2 separate regions of the Homo sapiens genome follow, and region 2 is linked to region 1. The links are contacts of gene promoters, found by promoter capture Hi-C in human tissues and cell types (Jung and others, 2019). All regions are on one chromosome and are shown on one strand. Each heading gives the region's core, a stretch centred on a gene start or on the middle of the fragment in contact. The rest is flanking DNA. Distances are from core to core; before and after follow the strand shown. Region 1 holds the start of SOX5 (SRY-box transcription factor 5). Region 2 holds the start of LOC105369697 (a long non-coding RNA gene).

Evidence for each region. The method cuts DNA at HindIII sites, captures the fragments that hold promoters and counts their contacts. A contact is called where the count stands out against the background at its distance.
Region 2: a fragment that was not itself captured here is called in contact with the fragment with the promoter of SOX5 in region 1 in 2 of the 25 tissues and cell types used here (dorsolateral prefrontal cortex and mesenchymal stem cells).

The regions. Positions count from the first base shown.
Region 1 is chr12:23,946,872-23,951,216 of GRCh38, forward strand. It overlaps SOX5 (SRY-box transcription factor 5), which reads right to left and starts at 2,799. Exons shown (of 15, transcript NM_006940.6): 1 at 2,693-2,799. The coding sequence starts at 2,730. The HindIII fragment of the contact is 5,378 bases long and covers 237-4,345 here.
Region 2 is chr12:23,629,639-23,633,971 of GRCh38, forward strand. The region is part of intron 8 of SOX5 (SRY-box transcription factor 5); the gene reads right to left. It overlaps LOC105369697 (a long non-coding RNA gene), which reads left to right and starts at 2,684. Exons shown (of 3, transcript XR_001749445.3): 1 at 2,684-2,754. The HindIII fragment of the contact is 7,266 bases long and covers 1-4,333 here.

The DNA of each region.
Region 1 (4,345 bases), core at 1,549-4,048:
AATCACTGTTCTATTTGCACTACCTCCTGCATATTTTTAACAGACAATGAAATTGTTACTACTTCTTAACTATTTAACAACTGCTTATTAGTCTGAGAGTACTGACCATGTTCATTTCTAGGGATGATAATATAGACATATACAAATCTAAATCCAAATTTTGATCCTGATATTTAAGTTCTGAATATTCCTTAAAGTTCAAATAGTCTACAGGCTGGGAAGAATAAAAGATGGACAAGACTCTACCAATGAAATTAGTAAAAATGATCACATAAAACTTTTACAGTACATGAACCCTAAGCAATTTATTATGTCCTCTAGATCAAAGTTCTCTATTTCACAAAGAAATTTAGAAGTCTTCTTTTAGATTTCTAAGTTTAAGTGGGAAATTCATCTATAGCAAGTGACCCAATAGAATAAAAATTAACAGTCAATAGAAATGACCTATTTATTCAATGAAAGTTGCAAATAGTTGAAAAGGCAAAAAATCTAATTATATGTGATAGTTTAGTTACATCATAAATACCTCCTTTGAAGAATATAAATATTCAATATTGTGTCTACATGATACACTGTATCATGCATGGGTGCCTATAGAGACACTCACCCGTACAAATTCAATGTAAACAAATAGTAATGATTTGCTGAGATCTTTGTATGTATTACCAATTACAACCACAGGGGAAATTATTAAGGAACGTTATATTGTGTGACATTTTTCAGAATTATTTTAGCTACTAATATTTCTAAATATGATAGTCATACTAACAACCCTATTGATTATCACTTGCTTATTTAATTAGCTAGTTAGAAAAGCATGCCTCTGGGTGAAAAAAAAAAATGAAATTCCCACCAGGAGGAAAAAAGATGTTAACAGATTTGAGCATCAGAATAGGAAAGGGAAAAGTTTAGTTTAAAAAGAGATAATTGAAAAAAAAATACAAATAAAGTTCACAGCAGGAAGCTTGCCTATATAGAGAAATAGGCTACAGCCTGTTAATATGTAACTACCTTTTTATAAGTACAATCTGTTAACAGGCTTACAAATCAGCCTCAGAGTTGTATTTGCAAAAAGTATAATTAGAATTAAAGAATATTATCATTTAAGTGCTACTCTGTGCATTCTAGAAAACTTAACTGTGTTAAATTAGCAAATCGCTACATTAGGTAATGTACAGTATGTTCCACTATGAATAACTTCAACATCTACCTATGATATAAGGCTATATTTGCAAATAAAAGCTCACTAATTAAAGAGTTAATATATAGAAGTGAAAATTTTAATTCAAAACTGTTAAGAAAGCTCAAACATTCGCTGGAATTATCTAGTAAAGATGCAATTTAATTATTAAAAAAAAAAACACAGAAGAAATCAAAGAAAGATGACAGCACCGAAGTATATGTGTTGGCTATTTTACTTTCTTCCCTGATTTGATACTGGCTTTTCTAATATGTGACCACATTCAAGCGTTACTTTATCCTCAATACTCTTTTTCTCTTCCATTGCTTCACTTCTAGAATGTTTTAATCTTTGTCCTTTCTTTTTTCGTCTTTTCATATCAAATTCAGTCGTTTGAGCGATGAACAGCTTGACTTAGCATATTTTTAACCAGCTGGTCTAGCACCTAGCTTGCATTGCATAGTCAGATACAACAAATGTTTATACAGAAGGTAGCTTTCATGAAAATGAAAAAAAGCCTGGGTATCATGCATCCTGGCTTTTTTTAGCTTTTTTTTTTTTAATTCACCATACAGAATACAAAGTTTGAATTCTTTTTAATGGCAAACAAAATTCTATTTATAGTTCAAAAAAATGAACTTATGCTGGGATAAGAACTCAAATTTAAAAATTGCAATGTGTACTTATAGGAACATTAAGAGGGCTAAAATTCTTTCAAAGCCCTGCTTTACTTGCAACAACATCAAATAAAAGGATGCTGCAGATATTTCTCTAAATAGGAACAACTTAATTACAAATACACTATTCCCATCATAGCAAAAGGGGAAAATACAGTAAATTAAAATTCAGTCAAGACAGCTAACACAAAAAGTGGCCACTAAAACTTAGAAAGGGAACAGCTCCATTTATCCCCTTTTCGCCCCTATTTTTGACACTTAGGGAGTAATCTAATATAGCGATGATGTTAAATTTTCTTTGGGGGGAAAAAACGCTCTCTTATATCAACAAAAGGTCATGTGCTTTACTGAGCAGCTTCCAAAGTTTTACGGAAGGATCAAATAGGAACTTATAGCCTCCGTTTAAAGCACCACTAAAACCTTCTGTCACCCTAGAAATTACATGAGACAGAGATGCTGAAAATGGTAACATTCTGCACAAAAGCGTTTTTAAAAGGTGGGGAGAAAACAATCAATGAAGGAAGAAAGTAAGAGAGTGAATGAGAAAGACAGAAGCAGCGAGTTGGGGAGAGAGAGAGAGATGCTTAAGGTTCATTTAATTTGCTGTTATAGGACGCAACCTAAAAACATTAGCAGAAATCTCGGAGACTTTGCAAATCAGTTCAGTTTGGTCCGGGCAATCACAACAAAAAATCAGCTAACAAGATTGCAGAAGCCCTAGCTAAAGGCTTCTCTAACAAACACGTTTTGGGGGAGCATCTTCCAATGATTCAGAGACTACTGTAAAATGGGAGAGTTGTACTTCAATATATTAGGGGGAAAAAACTGTACTCACCTTTCAAACTCCTGAGGTAAATCAGGGTCAGTAAGCATGCTGGAAAAGCACAATTTCCCTTTGTCACAGCAGCCACCTATGATCGTCTCCAACTGAACCTGTCAAGTGAGTCCAAACCTTCTAAACCAATTGATTTTCTCTCTGTCTCTTCCCCCCCTCCCTCCCTCCCTCTCTCTCTCTCTCTCTCTCCCTCTCTCTCTCTGTCTCTCTCTCTCTCTCTCTCTCTCTCTTTCTCCCCCCCTCCTTCCCCTCCTCTCTCTCCTAGGACTCCTTGACCAGTCTCTTAAAGGGGTAGTGCACTTCCAGCAGCGGAGTCTGGCTGCTCCCCCCTCCGCGGAGCCACACGCTCCGGCTGCAAGGCTCTAGACAACCTCAGGGTGCCTGTCCTTTCCTTTTAATTCTCTCTTCTAGACATCACTGAATGTGAGAAGTCAACTCATTTAACACGTCTCCCATACTCTGTCTTCTAAATCATAAAACTCACACACACACATACACACGCAGAACAGTATGATTTTGTAAAACGTATTTGCTGCTGATTAAAAACCTAGTCTATATAATAACAGAAGCTCGATTAAACTGCATTTATTAACTAATTAAGCAAAAAATTTAATGTTAGTAATAGCATTTTTACACAAAGAATTGTTATTCCTTCTCACCCTTTTCTAGGCTCTCTCCGTTCACACACGGAAATACACGCACACACACACACACACACTCACACACACACAACAATCAGGCATTGTTCTGAGGGAAGAAAAGCAACTTTGACAGATTGAAATATAGCAGAGGCCCCTTCAAGGAAACCTGTAAACAACTTGTCACTCACTCTGTCGGTCTCACTGTTAGCTCGTGCTTTCCGCAAAGTGGTGCGAACGTCCTGGCAACCCGACCAAAGTTTCCTCAGCTCTAAACTCCATAAAACACGATGTGCGATGTGGAGGGGAATAGGTATCCACATGCCAAAATAACATACACGAGCGAACAAAAACCCAAAACGAAATCAAAACATAAAAACAAAAAGACGGTACTAACAAACTGTCCTGTTTGGGATCGCTGGGGAGGTCAGGAGTAGGAAGCGCCCCCCTGGCTGTGGATCTCTTTAATTTCCTCTGCCCAGGCAGCCACAGATAACAAGGTGGACAAACTATGGCTTTACAGATTCTAAGCTGGCTGGCAAGGCACAGCCTCCATAGCAGTTCCAATTATCTAGATAAAAATCTGGCAGCCGAGAAAGGTAATCAGGTAATGTACCTTTGACACGAAATGACAGAGGCACATACACACAGAGAGAGAGACACTTACACAGACATGCATGCAGAGATGGTGGCTGCCCCGTGCACCGCAGCATCTGGTCAGGGAGTAAGCACACACTTACCAACAGGAGATAGTGTGCATTCTTCACACACGCATGCACACACACACACACACACACACACACTCACTCACGCACGCTCTCCACTCCTACTGGGAGGGTTCATTCTGCACAAAAGGCTACATTACAGAGCCCGCCCCAATAAGGGAAAGAGAGGAAAAAAAAGCCTTCCATTGTTGAGAGGGCAGGTCAGTTGATTAGATTTTCTGTGGAGAATTCCACGAGGAAATTCCCTTCAAAGCCGAAGTGATTAACTGGGGGCTATTCTGGAAATGGAG
Region 2 (4,333 bases), core at 611-3,110, 320 kb before region 1:
TAGTTTGAAACAACGTTTTCAACCATCTGTGAGGTCTTTTTCATTTCAAATACACTTGTTAGAATGATAGGTTGTTTGCCTTTCTTCAAACTCTATTCCACTTTCATATTTCATTCATTCTCTTTCATTTCAACCTCCTCTATCATCCACCAAGGATCCTTGACTGATTCATCTTTGCATTTCTTATAATGCTTAGCTCAATAGCTTACAAAGAATAAATATTTGCTGAATAAATAAAGATTCCAGGATACTATGGGTCTATAAAAATAATTCACTTTCATATTCAAGTTTGAAATAAAACTGTTTGGTCAAATAAAAATTTTCTCAATTCAAGAAATAATTTTGCTGTAGACAACATGTAGGTGGAATAAGGGACATGTATCCTAGTGTATCAAGGACATGTATCTATTACCTAGGAAATAAATAAGCTTTGAATGGCTATACAAGAAAATATTTTTATATGATTTATAAAAAAGTTGCATATTACATTAAAAGCACCTATGTAAAAATAATTTATTTTAGACTTTGTAAGAAATTTATTTAGAATAGTTAGAGGCAGCACATAGAAACAATTCATTTGCATTACCTCCATGGAAAAATGGGAATTGACTGGAGATGTTATTCTCATTTTACAGATATAAATATTGTAACAAGGAACGAACCATAGCAAAATATGAAAAACTACCCTTCATGTAACTGCCCAGATTGTCTTCTGGATAAGTAAACTCATTGCCTCCCATAGATTCTTGCGATGGGCCTTTATTTTATACCACAGAGATGAATGAAATTATTTCTTCAAAAATAAGACATTTTGTCTCAGTTTTATTAACACACTTTAGTGCTGCTCTGAAACGTAAGGAAAGTCTGCCATGCCCTAATTTTCAAGACTTCCTTTAAGCAATAACAAATAGTTCTCAAATCTACTAATAACAATTATTAATCAGCTAATACTATTAAATATTAACTCAAATCCAGCACATGGTATTTGAGAAATAATACATTTATTGTTCCAAGACTTTGCATGCATTATTTCATTTAATCCTCAACAATAAGAGGTCATTTATACCCACTTTACAGACAAGAAAATTGAGGCATGGAGAGGTTAGGTAACTTGCCCAGAGTCACAGAGCTTGAAAGTAACAGTATGATAATTTAAGGAAGAGATGGCTGCAAGAACCACACTTATAACCATTATGTTATACTGCCTCTCACTAAACAAAGTGCTTCTTAAAAGATTAATCTAAAGACAATAGCTTAAAAAGATAAAATTGCTTTCATCATTTTATCTTTCCTCTAATTATCCCCTAAGACATTAAATTTGTGTGTGTGTATCTATACATAATTAAGTACATTTTTCTGTGTATATTTAATTAAGACTCCACCCTATGTTACAAGTTGTATGTAATGCAATTTGTATGTCCCAGTAGCATGCTTTGACTAAACCATACGAATAATGGATAAAAATCCATGGATAATATTAAATAGTTTTCTAGTATCAACAGCAACAACAACAGTAACAAAAACCCCAGCATTTGTTCCTCTTAAGATGCATCTGTCTTCACATGGGTCATTGGTCCTATTAAGGTGATAACTCTTATTTAGGTAAAATTTTACTCCGAAGATTGAATTTGTCTTCATAAAATATTCCTTAAATAAATTAAAGAATACTAGTAAAATAAACTAAACCAACAATTAGGCTGAAGAACAAATTTCTAAGATAAACATAATCTGTGAACTTGAAACACATTAGTTGCCCTCTCTTCTTATCCACAGCCAAAACTAGAAAACTGAATATTTCTGTTTTTCTTGATAAAATTTAAAAAAGTATACTTTAAAAATTTCAATAAATTGGTATTGCTCATAGAATTACATCTACTGCTGGTCTTGGGACAGCAGTTCTTTTATGTATGTTTATTAGCCCAGAAACATTTTAAAGTTACCTAAAACATGTTTTGATTAAGATAACACAGGATACTATCAAGGAATGGGCATGGACTTGTGACCAGAAAACCTGGCACTGACTGAAGTTATATAGCTTTAGTATAGGTAATAACAAAATTTCAAATATAATTTTAAAGTTTACCATTTATTTAATCGACCATTACAATAAAAATGAATACTTTGGAAAAACACACGTGTACTGATGTTTCTGTCAGCATGTAATAAGACACCATGAAGCTGCTGAAAGCAAGAAAACACAGAAATAGTATGAAAAAGACACTGTGTGTACTGACTCCATTGTCCAAATGTCAACACCTCCCAGGAACTCTAGGGGTGGTAATAACTATGGAAGCAGTTCCTAATAGGTTCTTCCTTAAAGGGGATTCTCGACAAACTGCTGGGCTCTGACTCTAGCCCATATGGGCTTGGAAAAGTCAGAGAAAATGTTGGCTGCACTTTTTCAGGCCTATTTGCATATGTTCTTTAGTATGCAAAATGTCTCTGTATATAATTTAATTGTTGTTGGGGTTTTTTTGCCTCTATTAATACATATGCAAATGACTCACTCTTGCAGCTGTGCTGTATTAATCATATGTGTGCTTCTGTCTGTCTGCCCTCCAGGCTCAGGGTCGAAGGGAGAGGAAAAGAAGGAATTCAGTCTTTTAACCTGCAAGAAAACTCACTCATGCAGACAGAAGTCCAACAGCAAACAGCACACCAGGGTTGCGACTGAAATGAAGAGCAGTTGATCATTATTCACCCTGTATGAAAATGATACGACCTAAAAGTTTAACTGAGTAGTACAGTATTTTGGTAGGTAAAGATGAACACTTAACAAGTATACATCCTTGTAAGTAATTCCTTCAATAACAAGATAAAAATCCTCACATCTAGATTTTTCTATATGGTTATTACTTCCTTATTGATTTTCTGGAAGTTTCTCTTGGCCAAGCATATAAAGCCATGCTCAGTCACTCACAGTGCTGGGAAATATGGAGCATTCTTTTATCTGTGTCCTGTCATAATTATTGACCTTCTTCAGAGACTGGCAGGAGTTTGATAAAAAGATGAGCTTCAGTATTTCATCTACCTCTACCTTGATGTTACTCTCCATCAGACAGGAGCTTAAGCCATTTCCAATATTACTTCGTATACCTATGATTGCTATGAAAAAAGATTGATTTCAGTTGATATTTTGTATGATTCATTCTCTAACATGATCACACATCATCTATCATTTTCTCTATTCCAGAGAATGCATGCTACTAATATTACTAGTTACTGAAGCTGTAAGCCCATGAGGTTTCATTTATGACAACTTGGAATTTTGAGCCTTTATTCCAAAAATATTATTATGAATTTTTAAAATAGTCCTACTAAAATAATTTTAAAAGTTTAATTAAGTCAATAAAAATGATGATTGGATGCTACTTGCTTATTTTGAATTAAATAAGATCATCCAAAAAGAATTTCAATCTTTTTTTCCTTCTGCTTATCACTATCAATCATTGGTTGGAGTCAACATTTTTGGCTTCCTATAGGTAGAACAGGTGGCAACCATCTTTTGGCCAAGACAAATACAGTATTTATAAAGTGAGAAGTAAGTGGATAAATATTTCCTTCCAATTTCAAATCTTAGAAGTGTAGCAAAAAACAGAAACAGTACATTACAGAAGAATTATTACTATTAAAAATATTCATGATGCCCATTAAGTAAAATGCAAATTATAACGAAAATGAATATGAGAAATAAATGCTAGATGGATTGTTGCCATCATTTGATCTTATTAATTAGAAACAGATTATTCACATAGCTGATTTTATCTTGTCACAAATGTCCAAAAATTCAAAGTGTAACTTCGTTTTGTGTAAATAGTGATATTCATTTTTAATATTAAAATGAACATAGATAAGTAAGCTATATAAATGAACCCCTCGCCTTTAAAAAGAGTCAGCATCAGTATAATAAATAAGTAAATATCTAAATCATCATTGGCTCTTGGAGGTAAAAAAGAGTACTTGAGGATGAAGAAGAATGAAAAAAAGAAGGAAGGAGAGGAAGAGAGAAGGTAAACTCAGTGTATGGAGCTGCTAATTGGCTAGTAATTATTTTGATAAACACATCCTTCCATTATTTAGAAATAATTTACTTCAGTATTGTATTGGCAGAATAAGCCATGAGTCAAATAAAAGTACCTCCAGTAGTTCATATTTTTATATATGTCTATACACACACTATCACATAATATAGGAATTCTCAAGTATTGTAACATTTGGTCTTTTATTGTGAATTATAATGATTTTAAAAGAATTACATAAACTGTAATAAGTGCTAAAACACATTCTTTATGCAGCAACCCACTGTTATGGTAAGATAAAGGGAAGAAAGAGC